5 separate regions of the Homo sapiens genome follow, and all the other regions are linked to region 4. The links are contacts of gene promoters, found by promoter capture Hi-C in human tissues and cell types (Jung and others, 2019). All regions are on one chromosome and are shown on one strand. Each heading gives the region's core, a stretch centred on a gene start or on the middle of the fragment in contact. The rest is flanking DNA. Distances are from core to core; before and after follow the strand shown. Region 1 overlaps TJP2 (tight junction protein 2). Region 2 overlaps TJP2 (tight junction protein 2). Region 3 overlaps TJP2 (tight junction protein 2). Region 4 holds the start of FXN (frataxin). Region 5 overlaps TJP2 (tight junction protein 2).

What was found. Contacts are between HindIII fragments. The study calls those that stand out against the background at their distance.
Region 1: a contact is called between a fragment that was not itself captured here and the fragment with the promoter of FXN in region 4, in 2 of the 25 tissues and cell types used here (lymphoblastoid cells and mesenchymal stem cells).
Region 2: a fragment that was not itself captured here is called in contact with the fragment with the promoter of FXN in region 4 in 1 of the 25 tissues and cell types used here (hippocampus).
Region 3: a contact is called between a fragment that was not itself captured here and the fragment with the promoter of FXN in region 4, in 2 of the 25 tissues and cell types used here (heart right ventricle and stomach).
Region 5: a fragment that was not itself captured here is called in contact with the fragment with the promoter of FXN in region 4 in 3 of the 25 tissues and cell types used here (bladder, dorsolateral prefrontal cortex and hippocampus).

Annotation. Positions count from the first base shown.
Region 1 is chr9:69,242,552-69,246,200 of GRCh38, reverse strand. The region is part of intron 17 of TJP2 (tight junction protein 2); the gene reads right to left. Among named protein-coding and RNA genes, the nearest start is that of BANCR, 63 kb to the left of the region's middle. RefSeq lists an enhancer at 3,420-3,649. The HindIII fragment of the contact is 4,818 bases long and covers 1-3,649 here.
Region 2 is chr9:69,204,085-69,207,474 of GRCh38, reverse strand. All of the region lies in intron 1 of TJP2 (tight junction protein 2), which reads right to left. Among named protein-coding and RNA genes, the nearest start is that of TJP2, 32 kb to the right of the region's middle. RefSeq lists a silencer at 2,708-3,002. The HindIII fragment of the contact is 8,597 bases long and covers 1-3,390 here.
Region 3 is chr9:69,223,676-69,227,571 of GRCh38, reverse strand. TJP2 (tight junction protein 2) reads right to left here. Exons shown (of 23, transcript NM_004817.4): 6 at 2,165-2,268; 7 at 1,397-1,550. Among named protein-coding and RNA genes, the nearest start is that of TJP2, 51 kb to the right of the region's middle. The HindIII fragment of the contact is 4,011 bases long and covers 1-3,605 here.
Region 4 is chr9:69,033,601-69,037,014 of GRCh38, reverse strand. It overlaps FXN (frataxin), which reads right to left and starts at 1,263. Exons shown (of 5, transcript NM_000144.5): 1 at 1,068-1,263. The coding sequence starts at 1,232. RefSeq lists silencers at 28-322, 905-1,374 and an enhancer at 695-744. The HindIII fragment of the contact is 19,714 bases long and covers 1-3,414 here.
Region 5 is chr9:69,185,629-69,189,529 of GRCh38, reverse strand. All of the region lies in intron 1 of TJP2 (tight junction protein 2), which reads right to left. Among named protein-coding and RNA genes, the nearest start is that of TJP2, 13 kb to the right of the region's middle. The HindIII fragment of the contact is 3,810 bases long and covers 1-3,540 here.

The DNA.
Region 1 (3,649 bases), core at 851-3,350, 210 kb before region 4:
TCCACAGATGCCGAGTATCTGATACAAAATGACACAGTATTTGCATATGACTTATGTACATCCTCTTATATACTTTAAATCATCTCTGGATTACTTATAATTCCTAATACAATGTAAATGCTACGCAAATCGTTGTTATACTATATTGTTTAGGGAATAATGACAAGAAAAAAACCCTGCACGTTTAGATGTAACCATCCATTTTACCCCTCAAATATTTCCTATACACGGCTAGTTGAATTCATGAATGTGGAAACCACAGACATGGAGAGCTGACTGTATATCACTTTGATAGACTTACACATTTTAGAATATACATATAGATTAAACAAACCCAACCAGTGTGTATTCAAAGAATATACATTTTCTACTCAGAACAAAGTATATCTTACATAATAGCACTTACTATGCATCAACCAGTTACTTTCCAAGTACCTTACCTGGATTAGCTCATTTCACGACTACACAAACTTTGCAAGGTAGGTGTTGCTATGATGCCCATCTTATAGATGAGAAACCAAGGTAAAGTAGTGAAATTAACTAGCCCAAGGCCACACACCAAGCAAGTGTGAAGCTTGGATGCAAGCTCAGAAAACTGCTTTCAGAGCCTATGGTCTCAGCCACCACACTACATGGCCCATCTAAAAACAGAAATTTAGAGCACAGATATAAAATACCAACAAAGTACAACATATGTCATTTCTTCAGCAATATGTATTATGGACCTAATGGAGATAAATTAGACAAGCAAGTTAGTCCAAAATAACAAATTGTACCCCTAAAATTATCAGACTGCAGGTAAATTAGGATTTCTTTTAAACTACATTGCCATGGCCTCTTATTGTACTATCACTTCTAAAGCCAAAAAGAACCATTAAGCAAATTTTGTAAGCAATGATGCTTCAGGTTTTCCTCCAAGTAACATAGCTTTCTTCTGTTTAAGAAGTTCTAACAGTGACCTTAGAAAATCCTGAATGAGCTTACAATTTCCTTGGTTATTAATTATTTACAGCACTGAAATAAACTGATCCATTAGACAACCCGAAGAAAATTAACTTTGATTCCACGGACTTCTCTATTCCTATTATGGTACTCTGCAAAGATTACTGTGCTCATCTCATAGCTAAAATATGATACTTAAAAATAGAAGTGAGATTTTGTACCCCAGAGACAAAATGAGTGATTTACACTAAATATATACAAAATGTTAAGCAGTCTTTTAAAGCTTTATGTTGCAGCTGTCTGAGATAAGTATGGTCTGCATTCATCATAAAGAAAACCTAAAGTTAAAACGGCATTTTGTGAGATGCAGGAAATATGTTCTTGCCCCTTGATAAAATAAAGAAAATCACAAAAGCTCTTACTGAATTCACATTAACAGTCAAGTTTATGAATAAAAATTGAGAGCTTCACAGTAGCTAACTTCCTAAGCTGCATATAAAAGTAACATCCAACTCATGCACTTGACCTCTTTTTAACAGGCAGGTGCACAGACATGAAGCTGCCTTCCCTTGACTCTGCTGAATTAAGTACCTTTAGCTTATTATTGGATTCTCTCATTCCGCTTCTCAGATTCTTTGCCTTAGAGCAATAGTAGTTAATTATCTGTTGCTCCTAACCTCTGGGTTATGCCTATATCCCCTTGGATAGACTTACTCTATCTTTTGAGCTCAAGAAAGTGAAATACTGAAAGGATGCTGACTCAGCCACTGCCTTAGTTGGGAATACTGAGGTTCTGAGGGCACGTGTGCCCAGCCCTGACATGTATGGTCAGTGCTACCTCCCCCTCCCCAGCCAAGGAGGTTTGGAAGCACCAAGAGCGACAGCAAAAGGTAACATCTAAGACTAGAGGGTTTAGGGAAAGGGAGAAATGGGGAATGACTGCTAATGGGTATGGGGTATCTTTTGGGGATGATAAAAATGTTCTAAGATTGATTGGTTGTGATGACAGCTGTACAACTCTGAATATACTAAAGCCCACTGAATTGCATACTTTTTTTTTTTTTTTTTTTTTTTCCTGAGACAGGGTCTCATTGTCGCCCAGGCTGGAGTGCTGTAGTGCAATCTCGGCTCACTGCAACCTCCAGCTCCCGGGCTTAAGTGATCCTCCCACCTCAGCCTCCCAAGTAGCTGGGACTACCGGCACCCACCACCACACCCAGCTAATTTTTTTATTTTTAATAGAGACAGGGTTTCATCATGTTGCCCAGGCTGGTCTCAAACTCCTGAGCTCAAGTGACCTGCCCACCTTGGCCTCCCAATGTGCTGGGATTTACAGGCGTGAGCCACCATGCCCAGCTGAACTATATACTTTCAATGGGTGGATTATATGGTATCTAAGTCAAAACTCAATAAAGCTTTTCACGTGGCTCGGTTAACAGTGGCACGCTAGACCCCCTCTAAATGGGCATGCAACAGCAAAGGTATCCAGCTAGGGGGCCCAGCATCTTCCTTCTCTTTTCTGTGGTCAACTAGCTAGTCTATATAATCCTTTGAGAAATCAGGAATTAAAATTCTATAATTAGCATAAAAGGGTAGCCCCACTTGGGTCTCTAAATCCATAAGTCAACTTAAATGATCTTCGAACCATGCACTGAGTACTTTGAAGATTCCAAGAAAACATGTAATTCAAAGTTTGTTTTTTAAAAATAAAAATTTGTGATATGCAAATGTATTTTATAGAAAATTTTTAAAAATTGGTAGTAGGGGAGGCAAACCTAACACTTAAACTTATTATGACAAGTCAACTTGCCTTTGGGCAAATCTCAGAATAAAGCTTCTCTTGTTTAACTGAGAAGTACTGTAAGACTTGTAAGGAGAACTATTTTCATATTGTCATAATTAAATACTCGTGAGGAAGAGGAGCTTTCTTATTACTTTGCAAAAAGGAAAACAAAAGGATATTGAGCCTAAAGAGACTAATGCAACATAAAGCTTGACTTCAAATTACTGTGTTCATCAAAGCACTCTATTATTCTCAACTACTAACTCACAAAAATGCCATACACTTAAAATCATTTTAAAAGCCTACAAAATAGGCCAGGCACGGTGGCTCATGCCTGTAATCCCAGCATTTTAGGAGGCCAACACGGGCAGATTGCTTGAGCCCAGGGGTTTGAGACCAGCTTGGGCAACATGGGTAAACCCTGTTGCCAGAAAAAATACAAAAATTACCCAGGCATGGTGGTGTGTGCCTGTAGTCCCAGCTACTGGGGAGGCTGAGGAGGGAAGGTGCCTTGAGCCCAGGAAGCAGAGGTTGCAGTGAACCGAGATCGTGCCACTGCACTCTAGCTTGGGCGACAGAGGGAGACTATGTCTCAAAAACAAACAAAAACTATAAAATACTAATTCTGCCTGAAGATTCTACTGCTCAAATGTAAAGACTAGTGTTTCTGGACATGGCACACAGCCTCAAGTCAAAACCTGGTCAAGCTAAGAGGGACGAGGGTGAGATGGGGAATAAAAGCAATTATTAGTGCAGTCATCCACACAGCTGTAGGGAGTCAAACTTTGAAGTCTGGAAGAGTACTGTAAAAGACCACTTGCTAGAAAATTGGAGCTTGCTGGTCAAAGTTGCTGCACACCCTGCACCATCTATCCTGAAGACTGTACAATTCTACATAAGAGATTGGCAATTTCTGGTGAGATA
Region 2 (3,390 bases), core at 767-3,266, 170 kb before region 4:
AAATATCCCAGTATCTCTCAAGGGCAGGATGGACAAATTGATACATTATTAAAATACAATGTTTTACTGCAATGAAGACGAACAAACCAGTCACATAGACCACCACAAAAGGGATGCATCTCAAACATAAAGTTGAGCAAAAAAACACCCCAGAAGGATTTGTAGAGTGTGATACCATTTTTATATAGCTCAAAAAACAATGTTTTACAACAACTTGAATATACTTAACACTACTGAACTGTACATTTACAAATGGTACAGACAGTAAATTTTGGTATGCGTTTTTCACTATAGTAAAAAATTGCCAACAAAATTAATCTATTGTTTAGGGGCGTGTGTGTGTGTACGCACGCATGCAGTGGAAATATAAAGAAAAAGCAAGGAAATGAAAAACATAACATTCAGGATGAGGTGACCTGGGCAGGAGGCAGAGTATGGTGGGAGGTACACAAATTTCCTTCGTGTTTTGTCTTGGTGATGGTCTGCAGATATGTGTAATGGGCTCATGGCATTTGTTTAATTATTATGCTCCATGATTTAGATATTTAATTCTTTTATGGTACCAAACATTTCATAAGTTTAAAAAATAGGGAGATGAGGCCGGGCGCGATGGCTCGCGCCTGTAATCCCAGCACTTTGGGAGGCCGAGGCGGGTGGATCACGAGGTCAGGAGATCAAGACCATACTGACTAACATGGTTAAACCCCATCTCTACTAAAAATACAAAAAATTAGCCAGGTGTGGTGGCAGGCACCTGTAGTCCCAGCTACTCGGGAGGCTGAGGCAGGAGAATGGCTCGAACCCGGGAGGTGGAGCTTGCAGTGAGCCGAAATCGCGCCACTGCACTCCAGCCTGGGCAACAGAGCAAGACTCCGTCTCAAAAAGAAATAAAAAAATTAAATAAATAAATAAATAAATAAAAAATAGGGAGATGAGTGGGTGAACACCAAAATGAATACTGACTCCTGGTGAAGGATCTAATACCCAAGAGGTACGAGTATATTTAACAGCAAATTTTTCAATGCAGTTAGAATTTTGCAAAGTGAAGAGGGGATAATAATTTCAACTGGAAGGAGGGCGAGTTGAAGGATGGTACCAGTAATTTGAAAGGGGCAAAGAGGGTAAAGCAAGGCAGGTGCGGTGGGCAGAGTGGGGACGCAGGTTAGGTCTGGGGAGTTGTGGGGGGAGGTGTATGCAGAAAACGCCAAGTCACCTTTTTAATCCAAGTGTCAACATTCTATCCATTAGGAGGATCTTCAATGTGCTTTCATCATCTTTCCTTATCACTTTTACTTTTCACGTAAGTAGTGTTCATGACAACCCCCTTTATATCTAACAGGTCATTCTTAAGACCTCATGGAAAGTTAAAAGTGAGCTAACTTTTCTACCATAAACAAAAAACTTAATGCATTAACAGTAAGGTTTTTGTGTGACAAAAGAAGAGAAAGGAACTAAGGCAAATAGTTACTTATTGTGTTTTTTTTTAATCTTTTTATAAAGCTTTTTTCCTTTGAAAAATCTTGGCCAGATAGGTAAAAATCCTATATATTTTACATAAAGAATGTAGAAACATGTTAAAAGCCAACCCCAAAACAGATACCGAAGTGTTCACTGCCCAAAGTCCCCCTGAACAGGCGGCTTTTAGATTCTGTATCCACAGACTGCTGCTGCCCAGTGATGGAGGTCAAAGCTAAAACCAAAGATTAATCGCAAGCTGTCCACGTAAGGGACATGCTTCATAAAAGTCTCAAGCCATCAAAGTAAACACTCACACATGTTCAAACTGTAAGAGGAAAAAAGAACATGTGAAAAACACTTTTTCTTCTAAGTTAGAAGCCTAGACATAATAAGAATATAGATTTCTGCAGTGTAAGAAAGCAAAAAGTTTTATCCCAAAACAAGAAATTCTCAAACATGAACAAACACAAAAGCCAGTATGTTAAGCTCTACCCAGGAAGCAAAACCATTACAGATTCCTAGCACATGGAAAACAGCAGCCTTTGATCCACAGATCCAGTAAGAGGCTATCAGTTTCACATAGATCTGCTAAAATTAATACAAGTATTTTTAAAAACCCACCAGTGACTACAACCTACAATCTCACAATTTGTTGCTGAAAGATGCCAGAAGCACAAATCAATCTGAGGATAAAGGACTCACTGTGAGAATGGTTTTGCTTCCCTCCCCTTCCCATGAAGAAAGGTTGGGGAAAACAAGGGGAGAGCTTGCAGAGGGACTCACACGGCCTTTCCATCTCCTCAACTTTTTAACAGCCTGGATCCACATCCTATGTAGGGCTTGAGCAGTCTTCATGGTCTCTGGAGATGCATGGGCCAGGCCACCGCCTACATTCCGGGCTGCTCACCCATTTCCATCACTCCATGTGGTTACGTAAGGCGGATACAATAGTGGCCCACATTTCCAGCAAATCCTGTTGTCATCTCACACAGTGACACATCCATATGGCAGGGATGCCAAACGCTTTGAAAAGCACTACTTATGAGCAAAAAAGAAAGCAGTTTGGATTTGCACCACTTCAACAGCTTTCTTTCTCTCCCTCTCTCTCCCTTGCCAGGGAACTAGAGCATCCGAGTAGATATTTCTTTTAAGCACATAAAATGATTCAGCATCTAAGTTGACAGAATTGAGTAAATGAGACACTTTAGAGCAACATTATGGAAAAGAATATTTAGAGAAGTATTTATACAGTATAGACCCTCTGATACACACACACACACGCCAGCTAGAAATAAACTAGCAATGTTTCAGGTCAACTGAATGGCTAATGTTACACAGAAATTAAAAAGCATGAAAAGAAAATGTTTTACGTCCTTGGAGATAACAAGGGGAAGATAAGACTCATTTGGTGCTGCTCAGAGACAACTCAGGGACAGAATGCTTGCTCAGCAAAGTTCCACTGTCTAACCTTTTTGTAAACTTAGCAGATAAAAGAATAACAAAGAGCCCTGCCGTCTGTTCTTTGTCTTTACCACTTGGGGAGAAGGGAGGGGTGGAGAAGCAAATTTTAGGTTTCTGAACATCTAGCAAAGATTTTATGGGATGCCTGGGGCTTGGGAGCTGGGGTTAGGAATTCAGAAGTCTGGTCTTGGGGAGCCTCTGGCCAATTCTTGCTACCATAGTGTATGTTATATGCCAATGGGCTTGGCCAAACAGCGTGCAAATGTAAAGTGTGCCATTTGATTTGAGGCTGAGATGTATATAAATCTGGACCATGAGATGGCCACCATCTAGGAAACAAGGAGAAGCAGAGCCAAGAAAGTGATTTTTAAAGTCACAAGATCTGGAGTGAGATCCTTGTCCTGTCACTTAGCTGTGGGGCGTTGGATACACTATACCCTTCTTTATACAGTGGCGATAAAACCATCTACA
Region 3 (3,896 bases), core at 351-2,850, 190 kb before region 4:
GGGGAAGGCAAATTTAGAATTGTGTATTTCTCTTTTGTCTCATTTTCCATCAAAGCTGCTACAGAAGAGTCAAAATTCTATTATTGGATCATAGATGTATACACTAATTCTTCCCAAGCAGCCCAATGCTTCTCAAACTTTAAGGTGCATACAAATCTTGTTAGGATGCAGTTGTTGTGGGGCAGTTGAGGGGAGACTGAGATTCTGCAATTCTATCCAGTTACCTGATTATGCAGATGCTATTGGGGTCAGGGGTTGGGGGATGAGGACCACATACTGAGTAGCAAGGAAATAAACTGCAAACCCCCTAACATGCTGGCATTATTTCTCATGCTCCTTTTGTTTTCCTGCACTGCACCCGTAACAGTCATCAACAACTTCTGATACACTGGAAAGTGAATTAAGTTTTAAGGTTTTACAAAGAAATTCCTTTAAAAAAAAAAATCAACAAAAGTCTGCTTTACAACTTCGTAACTTAATATTTTCTAAACTTCTCTGCATAAAAGCAACAGTAGATGGTTCAGTAGAATATACTGTGATTAACTATTTTTATTGGCAATTTTTACAAGGTTAAAATGTTATCCTATGTATAATTCATATTCAAATAATGAATATAGCTCTTTAAAAGGGAAGAGGTGATGCAGACTGCTAATTAATGAATGCCACAATATTAGCCATTTTGATTCTTTTTGAGCATCTACTTGTTTTAGCTATCCTCCAAATTGTCTTCTCTATTAGAGATATTAATAGCCACTTTTAAAGAATGAGCAATTAAGGCTGGGCCTGGTGGCTCACGCCTGTAATCCCAGCACTTTGGGAGGACAAGACGGGCAGATCACGAGGTCAGGAGTTCAAGACCAGCCTGGCCAACATGGTGAAACCCCGTCTCTACTAAAAATACAAAAATTAGCCAGGTGTGGTGGCAGGCGCCCATAATCCCAGCTACTCAGGAGGCTGAGGCAGAAGGATCACTTGAACCTGGGAGGCAGAGGTTGCAGTGAGCCAAGATTGTACCACTGCACTCCAGCTTGGGCAACAGAGGGAAACTCTGTCTCAAAAAAAAACAATAAGCAATTAGCAAATATATAAATGATATGGTTAGTTCTTTGAACCACTCAAACACACATTTTTTTACTGACAAGTTTTGCTTTCAATTGCCTAATTAATAGTTCTCTGAGAGTTCGCAAATGCACCAGAATTTTGTATTGGAAACCTAATTTCAATAGGCACTTTAATAAGCAAATAACAACCAACCAGTGACCTTTGGAGATTAAGGTTTCAAGGGGTCTTTCCTTAGAAATTTAACTTCCAGCTGGATAGCTACACTAAATAGAAGAATGGGGAAGCAACAGCCTTCCTTACTTCCAGCTAAGCTCACAGCCTCCTCTTCCTTTACCTTCTATTTCTGAGTCACTGTCATTTAATGACGGGATGTTGATGAGGGTCTGCTGGCTGTCTCTCAACACCACTAGCTGTAGTTTTCCTCTTGACTTTTCTATCAATTTTCGAGCATCCGTTAAAGACATGTTCTCAGTTACAGTCCCATTGATCTGTGTTTATAAAAAATGGTAATGTTAAATGCAATAAAATTATTCACAGTAGAAAATTCATATTTTCCCCTTCTAAAAATGTAAAGGCTTTGCTCAGATATTCAAACAGATATTGGCTTTAGGATGACTCAATAAAAATGAATTGTCGTTTAAATTAAATATAATCCTGCATGCCTGGATCCCAAATACAGGTGTAAGTTACTCTGCTAATTTATTTAACTTCCAAGCTCAAGACAACGGTTTGGTTTACTACTGGAACGTGTTTCCTGACTGGAGAGGTTTACAAGACCTATTAAATATTCAGCATTCATATATCACCAACTTTCCTTCTCATCTTTCCTTAGTTTAGGGAATAGGGATCTAAACTTTAAACAGGAAAGAAGAAAATATTCATGGAGTTTTTTTGTTTTTGTTTTCTAAACTGACATTAAACTGTTACGACCCTCAATGTCTGGTTTTTCTGATAAAAATCGTCTCATTATGCTGCTCTTGCCACCTCTGTCTTACCACTGACTCTCACTGGATCTAAGTCTCACTGTGTGGGTGCTGAATGTGGACATGCAGGCGATGAACGGCAGTATGCACACTACCGTTCTCTGCCCCCATCTACCCACCTTGAGAATTATGTCTCCTTCGTGAAGGTTGCCATCTTTAGTTGCCAGACCCGTTCGGGTCATTTCCTTTACGAAGATCTGACTCCCAAGCCGGAGACCATACTCTAGGAGACAAACACATAAACATACACGTATGTTATCAATTTGTTCAAAAAACTTAGTCTGGTTTATAGGACTATTTTAAAATATGTATTAAAAAGTTAATTTTGTATATGGGAAATTCTGTAAGATGACTGGCCTGAACTCTTCAAAAAAGTCAATGCCATAAAAAACAAAAAAGGTAGAGAAACTGTTCCAGATTAAAAGTTACATAAAAACCAAATGCAATGCATGAACTACCATAGGTCCCTGATCCAGTGGAGGGTGGGGGAAGAATGAGTTACATCATTTGGAGCAATCTGAAAATGAACTATAATATATGAAAGGGATATTAATGTTAATCTTCTTAAGTGTTATAATGGTATTACGGTGACTGATGTAGGAGAATGTTCTTATCTTTGGAAGATACCTCTGAAATATTTATGGGTAATGGTGAGTTGCCTGCAACTTACTTAAATAGTACCAAAAAACCCACTGAGAGAGGTAACAGGAAGGGTGATGGAGTAGAAGGAAAGAAAAAAAAAGGAGGAGGAAAAAGAAAGTGTGGCAAAATGTTAACAACTGGTAAAACTAGATGAAGGTTATATGTTTATTTGCTATAAAATTAACATTTTCTTTTTCTTTCTTTTTTTGAGACAGAATCTTGCTTTGTCACCCAGGCTGGAGTGCAGGGGCATGATCTCAGCTCACTGCAACCTCTGCCTCCCAGGTTCAAGTGATTCTCCTGCCTCAGCCTCTCAAGTAGCTGGGATTACAGGTGCCCACCACCATGCCCAGCTAATTGTTGTATTTTAGTAGAGACAGGGTTTCACCATGTAGGCCAGGCTAGTCTCGAACTCCTGACCTCAGGTGATCCACCCGCCTCGGCCTCCCAAAGTGCTAGGATTACAGGTGTGAGCCACTGCGCCTGGCCAAATTAACACTTTTCAAATAAAATGTTGGGGAGAAAAAAAAACAATTCAGCACACCTTAATAGGCATGTTCTGCTGACAATGAGGCTGTCTACAGGAAGGCACTGCAAAAAATCTAGCATTTTAGATTATATGAAGCTTGGCATTGAAAGGAATTCAGTGGGTGAAGAAAAGGGGTAAAGAAGTCAGGCAAAGTAATTAATAAAGCATTCAACTAAAACCAGCATAGCTTTGGGAGTTTATGGACTCTGAATTGCTATCAAAAACAAAAACATTGTAATTACTAAGTTATGCATATTTTTAAATACTTTCAATGCTACTTAAGACTCTTCTGGTTTTACTTAATAAACTTGTAAAAATACATTATTTTAAGAATAACTGTTCACATTTTAGGAAACTACCACAACAGAGCAGGTTTTAAAACAGGCACAAAATTTTTTATTATTGTTCAAACTAAAAATCTTATAATTACAAAACAAAGTAACTTTCCACAATTCAGGAAAGGTATGAAGTCAATTTTAAAATAAGTTTTAAATGATTTACGGTAAACTTGTCAGCCAGATCTTACCACAAAGATTAGAAGTGTTGTGGCCCATGCCCTAGTCCTTTAGGAAGCTGATAGTCAAGAATGGAATAAGGGAAGGGCAAAGCTACTTTCATGGATGGCGAGCCCCTAGTGGTCAAACAGCCTCACAGCCCAGAACAGAAGGCTGAGTGAGACA
Region 4 (3,414 bases), core at 14-2,513:
ACACAAATATGGCTTGGACGTGGCCTGCCTCTTTCATCTCCCCTAATACATGCGGCGTACCAGCCACTCTGAAGGGATCCCCTTCCGCCTTCCTGGCCTTTGCCCAGACGGTTCCCTCCTCGTGAAACACCCTCTACCACTTCCTTGGCATCTTCAAGACCCTCATTAAATACCATGTCCTCCCCTTGAGGAATCTTCCTCATCCCCACAGCCATTCTTTGGGTTTCCTCCTTTCAAGCCGTGGCGTAACTGGGTCAGATATTTCTTTGTACCCCCCAAAGGAAGAAAGGGGAACTAATTTGAAGTTCTGAAGACTTTATCTATGTTATTCCCATTTAATCCTCACACCAGGTCCGCAAAATGGGCGTCACCTTTATCTTCTCCCTACAGAAAACAAAGCCACGTCTCAGAGAGGTTAGGGGAATCCCCCAAGGTCACACAGCTCTGCGGAGTGGGGCAGAATCTGGAATAAAGGTCGGGTCAGTTTCCAAAAGCCAGGGCCCCTGCTGCTCTAGCTATTCTGCAGCTCTGAAAGTTTCACCTCGTTCCAGGAAAGCATTTCGTTCAAAAAAATCCAGCCTTGAAAATATTAGGTGTGCGCGCGCCCGTGCGCGCAAACACACACACACAACACACACGCTATATACAGATACACACAGACACACACATTATGTGTATGTATATACTAGCAGATACCATCTATTAATATTACTGAAACAAGTTATCGCAGAGAAGTGACAAGCATGGAGACAGCCGCACACCCCTCGGAACCGGTCCCCTCCACCAGCCTGCCCTGCCTTCGCCCGTGCCTTGACCCGCAGTCGCACCGCAGGACAAAATGTCCCCTTTTCCTTCGGAAAGCAGAAGCCAGTGTAAATGCAACCGGGAGAACCAGAGAAGGGAGTTGCAAGGCCGCTTCCGCCGGGCCGCCCTGAGAAGGAGCGGGGTGAGCTAGTCCAGCGCGCGTACCCGGAGCGACCCCGGCGTGCGCGGCGCCTCCCTGCGCAGGCGTGCGGCGTGCGGCCCGCGGCGTGCGGCCCGCGGCTGTTCCCGGCGCGGATACTTACTGCGCGGCGGGGCGTGCAGGTCGCATCGATGTCGGTGCGCAGGCCACGGCGGCCGCAGAGTGGGGCCAACTCTGCCGGCCGCGGGACCCGGGTGAGGGTCTGGGCCTGGGCTGGGCTGGGTGACGCCAGGAGGCCGGCTACTGCGCGGCGCCCGAGAGTCCACATGCTGCTCCGGGTCTGCCGCCCGCTCCGCCCTCCAGCGCTGGGTGCTGCGGCGACCCCTGGTGGCCACTGGCCGCAGGCACTCTTCTGTGGGGGAGCAGCTAGAGGTTAGACCTCAGGAAGAACTTCCCAGCTTAGCACTATTCGTGCATTTAACAAAAATGGAGAGCCTGCTTTGTGCAAAGCACGGAGTGCAACCAGGACCCCTGACCCAAGGGAGACTGCAGCCTGGTGGCCCGCCGCTTCTAAAATTCTAAACAGGAGGAACTTGGGAGCTGCTGTCTTGCTGGGAAGTGGGTGCATGCACAAATTGAGGCTGCTTGGCCGCCGGTATGGGTTTACAGCAGTTGGGTATGTGGGGCCAGGAGACGGATGCCTTGTGTAAATCTGTACTCTGCCCACTTCCTAGCTGTGTGACCAGAGGGCAAGTTAATTAACCTCTCTGTGCCTTGTTTATAAAATGCGTTTTATAAAAGTTCCTACTTCATAGGATTGTGGTAAGGATAAAATGAGTTAAGCCCTGTAAAGTTTTTTTTGGACAGGGCATGTTCCTGTTAAGTGCACAATAAATATTGTTAATAGATTTTATTGATTGATTGATTGATTGAGACGGAGTCTCGCTCTGTCGCCCAGGCTGGAGGGCAGTGGTGCGATCTCGGCTCACTGCAAGCTCTGCCTCCCGGTTTCACGCCATTCTCCTGCCTCAGCCTCCCGAGTAACTGGGACTACAGGCGCCCGCCACCATGCCTGGCTAATTTTTTGTATTTTTTTTTTTTTTTAGTAGAGACGGGTTTCACCGTGTTAGCCAGGATGGTCTCGATCTACTGACCTCGTGATCCACCCGCCTCATTTATTTGTTTGTTTGAGACAGAGTCTCACTCTGTTGCCCAGGCTGGAGTGCAGTGGTGTGGTCCTGGCTTACTGCAACTTCTCCCTCCCGGGCTCAAGCAGTCTTCCCATTTCAGCCTTCCAAGTAGCTGGGACTACAGGTGTGCACCACCACACCCAGCTAGTTTTTGTATTTTTTGTAGAAAGGGGGTTTCGCTATGTTGCCCAGGGTGGTCTTGAACTTCTAGGCTCAAACGATCTGCCCGCCTGGGCCTCACAAAGTGCTGAGACGACAGGCGTGAGCCACCGTGCCTTGCCTATTGTTGATAGATTTTAAAAGAGAATTTTATTTCTGTTACATATTACAAAGGGATGCAAATTGTGAAAGTTTTCTTCACATTTTATATATGCTTTAGAGGATGTCAAATGTGAGCCGAGTGTGGTAGTGCATGCCTGTGATCTCAGCTACTCAGGAGGCTGAGGCGGGAGGATCACTTGAGCCTGGGAGCTCAAGGCTGCAGTGAGCTATGATTGTGCCTGTGAATAGCCACAGCATTCCAGCCCGGCCATCATAGCAAGATACTGTCTTAAAAAAAAAGAAAATGTCAGTTGTGTACACTTTCCATGGCAGAGAAGATGGGAAGGTACTAAAGTTCTTCCAAAGCCACTTTGTGAATCGTGAAGAGAGACATGTTTACATACTTAGGATGCTAAATGACAAGTGTCAAGAGGAATGTAAACTAACAGGTGTGAGTGTTGAGTGGGAGATTTATATAGAGCTAGGGATGGGGGAATCAAGGAAGTATTCATGGAAGAAGTGGTGTTGGCACAGGGCCTTCAAAAATAGGGTGGAGGAGGTGGGATCTGATTGCCTATCAAAGAGGTGGTCCAGGGCATTCTGGATGAGAGACATCCTTCTGTGTTTAATTAATTCTAGGCAGCTGCTTAAATACTGTTATGTATATGCCAGGCCTGGAGAAATCATTTTCCCCCTGCAAAGTATCTGGAGATGCTTTTGATTGTCACAACAGGCAGCTGTGGGGTGGGTATGTTCTACTGGCATCTAGTAGGTAGAGGCCAGGGATGAAACATCCTGTGATGTGCAGGACAGCCCCCCACCTGTGCAACAAAGAACTATCCAGTCCAAAATTCTGCCAAGATTGAGAAGCCCTCCTTGAAACCATAAAGGGAGAGCCCATAGGCATCAAAGGGTAGTGTTTTCATTGCCAGCCATGGTCTCAGACTCTGCCACACCAACAGTGAGGCCCTTCCTCACATCATCAGAACTGCATTATATACTCAGAGAGAGAAAGCTGCATCATTAGTTATTATTATTATTATTATTTGAGACAGAGTC
Region 5 (3,901 bases), core at 386-2,885, 150 kb before region 4:
TCCTGCCTGCCTCAGTCTCCAAGTAGTTGGGACCACAGGCATATGCCACCACACTCAGCAAGAATCTCAGTGAATCTGAAAATGTTACTAACATTTTAAATAGTAACACTACCTTAGACTGCCCACAGAAACTCAACTAACCTATCAATTCTGGGTCCTGGGGAAAGACAGTGAGGAGAGAAATAAGCACCCTTCCCAGGGTTCAGTGGAGAAACAGGAAAGAAGCAAAATTTGTATGTGGAGACTTCCTAGGTCTTTCCACCCCTTGGGCTGGTTGCTCTGTTTATCAGTGTCCTCCTCCTCCAGGCTGTCCCGAGGCCAACATCTCGGCAGTATCTGCTCCATCACCAGAATGTTCTGGCTTCAAAATTCCCTATCTTCATTCCCAATCAAAATTATCTCTTTAACAATGTGTATGGTGTCAGTTAGATAGTAGAAGAAAGCTGACTAGTCTACTCCACATTAAAGTGTGGCTGTCTGATAGCCTAAAACCTCTTGGAGGTATTTGATGTTTTAGGGGATGTACTTTGACCCCAAGGTAACTTGCAATGGAATTCCAATCCTCAAGGCAAGCTCCCAAACACAGCATATCTAAGTTTTTCCTTCCAATTCTATAACCCAGGAGTTTGTAACCATAAGTTTTTCCTGATATTAATGATAGTTTTTGAGTGAAGGGGTTGATGGGACAACACAGCCATTTCTAACTGGAGGCTATGGACTTGAAGAAAGAATACTCTCACATGATAAGACATATTCTTAATATTTCTATAATAAAGTTGTGGTTTTAGCTAGCTGTATACATAATCACTTAATACCTCCCTGTAAGGCTGTGTCTTAGAGGCAACTTAGAGTCTTTGGGGTCTCATACAGTAATGAACACACAGAGGTCTCTGATGAATGAAGACATCTCTTGACAACATTGATATGTTACTTTTACTTAAGATTCTCTAGGAATACAAATATTTCTATGCACTTTCAGCGATGATGTTTAAACTCCTAATAATCAACACAGGGCCTTGAGCTTCTCCTATTTTCTTGCCACTGTGATTCTAAAAAGCAGAGACTGGTGGAATTGACAGAATCTACAGGTTTCAAATTCATCAAATGGACCTTGGCTCAAATCCCCTCCCTGTCACACAAGCCGTGTGACACTGGGCAATTTACTTAATGTTTCTGAGCCTCCGTTTCCCACCTATAAAATAGGGTTAACATTTACTCCTAGTTGACTGGGAAAAGTCAGTGAGATCTACACCAAGGGCCTACCACCACATCAGCCCTGTGATCTCCTTCCCCAGCTTTGCTAGAGAAAAGCTAACCAAACGTGGTCTTACAGCAAAACAAACCACACCTTACTTTGTCTCCTGGGCTCCGTCATGGTTAGGCATTCAACAGATCAGAAGTTCCACTTAACACATGGGAACTGAGCTGGAGTGAGCCAGCCCCCAACGCACCCCATAATATTTGTAGAACTCAAGAACACATTCTCAGAGCAGTTCTATAAGCTCCGCTAATGCACATTTTGGACTTCTCAGTCCAATAACACAAAGCCACAGGTTCAGAAGATCTCCATATTTCCTGCAAAGTGCTTTTTTCAGGAGGCAAGGAATACTCTAAGAAAAGGGAGAGAATACACCCCCAGTGTGATAAACGTGTGCTTATCACATTCCAGTCTTTTGAGACTCACCTTCTCCCTTCTCTTCCTTTCACCTTCCCCTATTTACTGAGCAACTACTCTACATCATGCCTACCTAGGAATGCAAAGAACCAGCCCTGCTCTCAAGAGCTCACAATCAACACCCCCTAATGTTAAAACTGACCACCCATCCAACAAGAGGTGGAATCCAGGCCAGTGGGTTTAGACCCTCACTGAAAACACACCGATCTTCTGAAAGGATAAACCCATGCACTGAAGCCTGTATCTAATTGAGGACATTTTTTACAGTTCACTGTTTCCCAGCATTCCTTTTGATTACGCTCGTCTCAGTCAAAAAGCTTATGTTGCTTATGTTGCTGAAAGATAAAGGACTATCCATGTAGCAGACTACACTAACATAGTCAGTATATCTCAAATTGGAACAGACGAAAGAGACAGAGAAACAGAAATGACAGCATCCCAGTTTTGACAACACAAATATAAAGCCAGCCGACTAAGTCTGGTAACAGTCTGGAGTGGTATGTTACAGCTGTTTTTTCAGGACAGTTCATTGCTGTGATATAATCCAATCAGGTCAACATTTATATTTAATCATCCAATCACACTCAAAGACAATTCAGAACAACAATGCAATTGTTATTTGGAGCTTACTACTAAGCCAAATGAGATGTTTTTCCCCCACATAGACATGTGTATGTTCCTTCTGTTCTATTAATAGGCGAGAGAGATTCTTTCAGGCCGTGCATGCTGACTGCAAATATTCTTTCTGTGGTAGTAAAAAGGAGCAAAAATATTGCCAATTTATGTTTCCTGGAAAAGTACATCACAAACATGATACTTAGAAGTTTAGCAATGCCTGAACTAATTTTATTTTTAGCCCAGTCCTGTTTCCCCACATTTCTCAGCAGAAACGCCCACAGAGAAATTTATCTTTAAAAACCAGGTGACTAACAAATTCCTGATTGTGGGGAGGTTCCAGGGACTAAGGAGGAAACTGATGGAATTTCAGCTGCCTCTCTTAACTTTCCCTAACTTTTGTGTAATATTAGTTCACTTGACAATTTATTTCTAAAGAATATTGTCAAATCAAAATACACGAAGCAACACCACGGGTCCCTTCCTCCAGCTGTAACACTACTAGCTGAAATATTTATAGATATTTGGGTCAGAAATACATACATTGATTTAAAACCAAGCATTTTTGCCAAAAGGAGTGAATTAGGTCAATGCCCATAAGAAGCTCCCCTCTGGCTCTATTTTCCAGTCTCCAAACAGTGAAGCCCTTTGTGCATTGTGTATCAGCCACTGTAAACTGTTTGGACATCCATTGTTAGCCCTGGCCGACTAAAAGTCTGGAGAAAAAGAGATAAAACCAAATTCTGTCAATATATTTCTAGCACATTCATTTACTAAGCAAGCTTTACAAACAGCCAGCTCACTTGAACTGCTAAACCAGTGGCTGAAATAGTCACTGGTTATACTTATCTTTCCATTTCGAATATTTGCCTTCCTTATCACTTCAAATTTCTCTGCAAGGAGCCTTCGGAAGTAGTACTACAGAAGTATGCCTAAAACGTTAATCAATACATCTTGACCACTCCATTTCTAGCAAATTACCTTAGGGCAGTAATAGTAGGGTCCCTGGAAAGTAAAATAGGTCTGGGTTATAGGAAAAAGTATTTGAAGGAGGAAAAAATTCACATTCTAAAGTTAAGAAAAACTCGGTTCTTTCCACATGTGACATCATTACAGACAGGCTGTTGCCAACATTGGTTCAAGATTTTTAAATGTCTTAAAACCACTACATTGGCCGGGCGCGGCGGCTCACACCTGTAATCCCAGCACTTTGGGAGGCCAAGGCAGGCGGATCATGAGGTCAGGAGATCGAGGCCATCCTGGCTAACACGGTGAAACCCCATCTCTACTAAAAAATACAAAAAATTAGCCAGGCGCAACCGAGACTCCGTCTCCAAAAAAAGAAAAAAAAAAAAAAAGGACTACATTATAGCTCATGTTTCATAAAATAAACTTATAATAGGACAGACACTTCTGCCAGCTGTTTTGGTAGACTACAGTGTTCCCTCCGCGAGAGATTTGAGGTACAAAATATGATAAAAATCTTCCATCTCATTTATCAGAACACAAAGGAAGCTAAAGACAGGGAAAAAAGTAACCCCATCTATCAGCCAGATTTATATATTACCTTTTATTTTATTAATAATAAAGTGGAATGACTTTAAAAAGAAA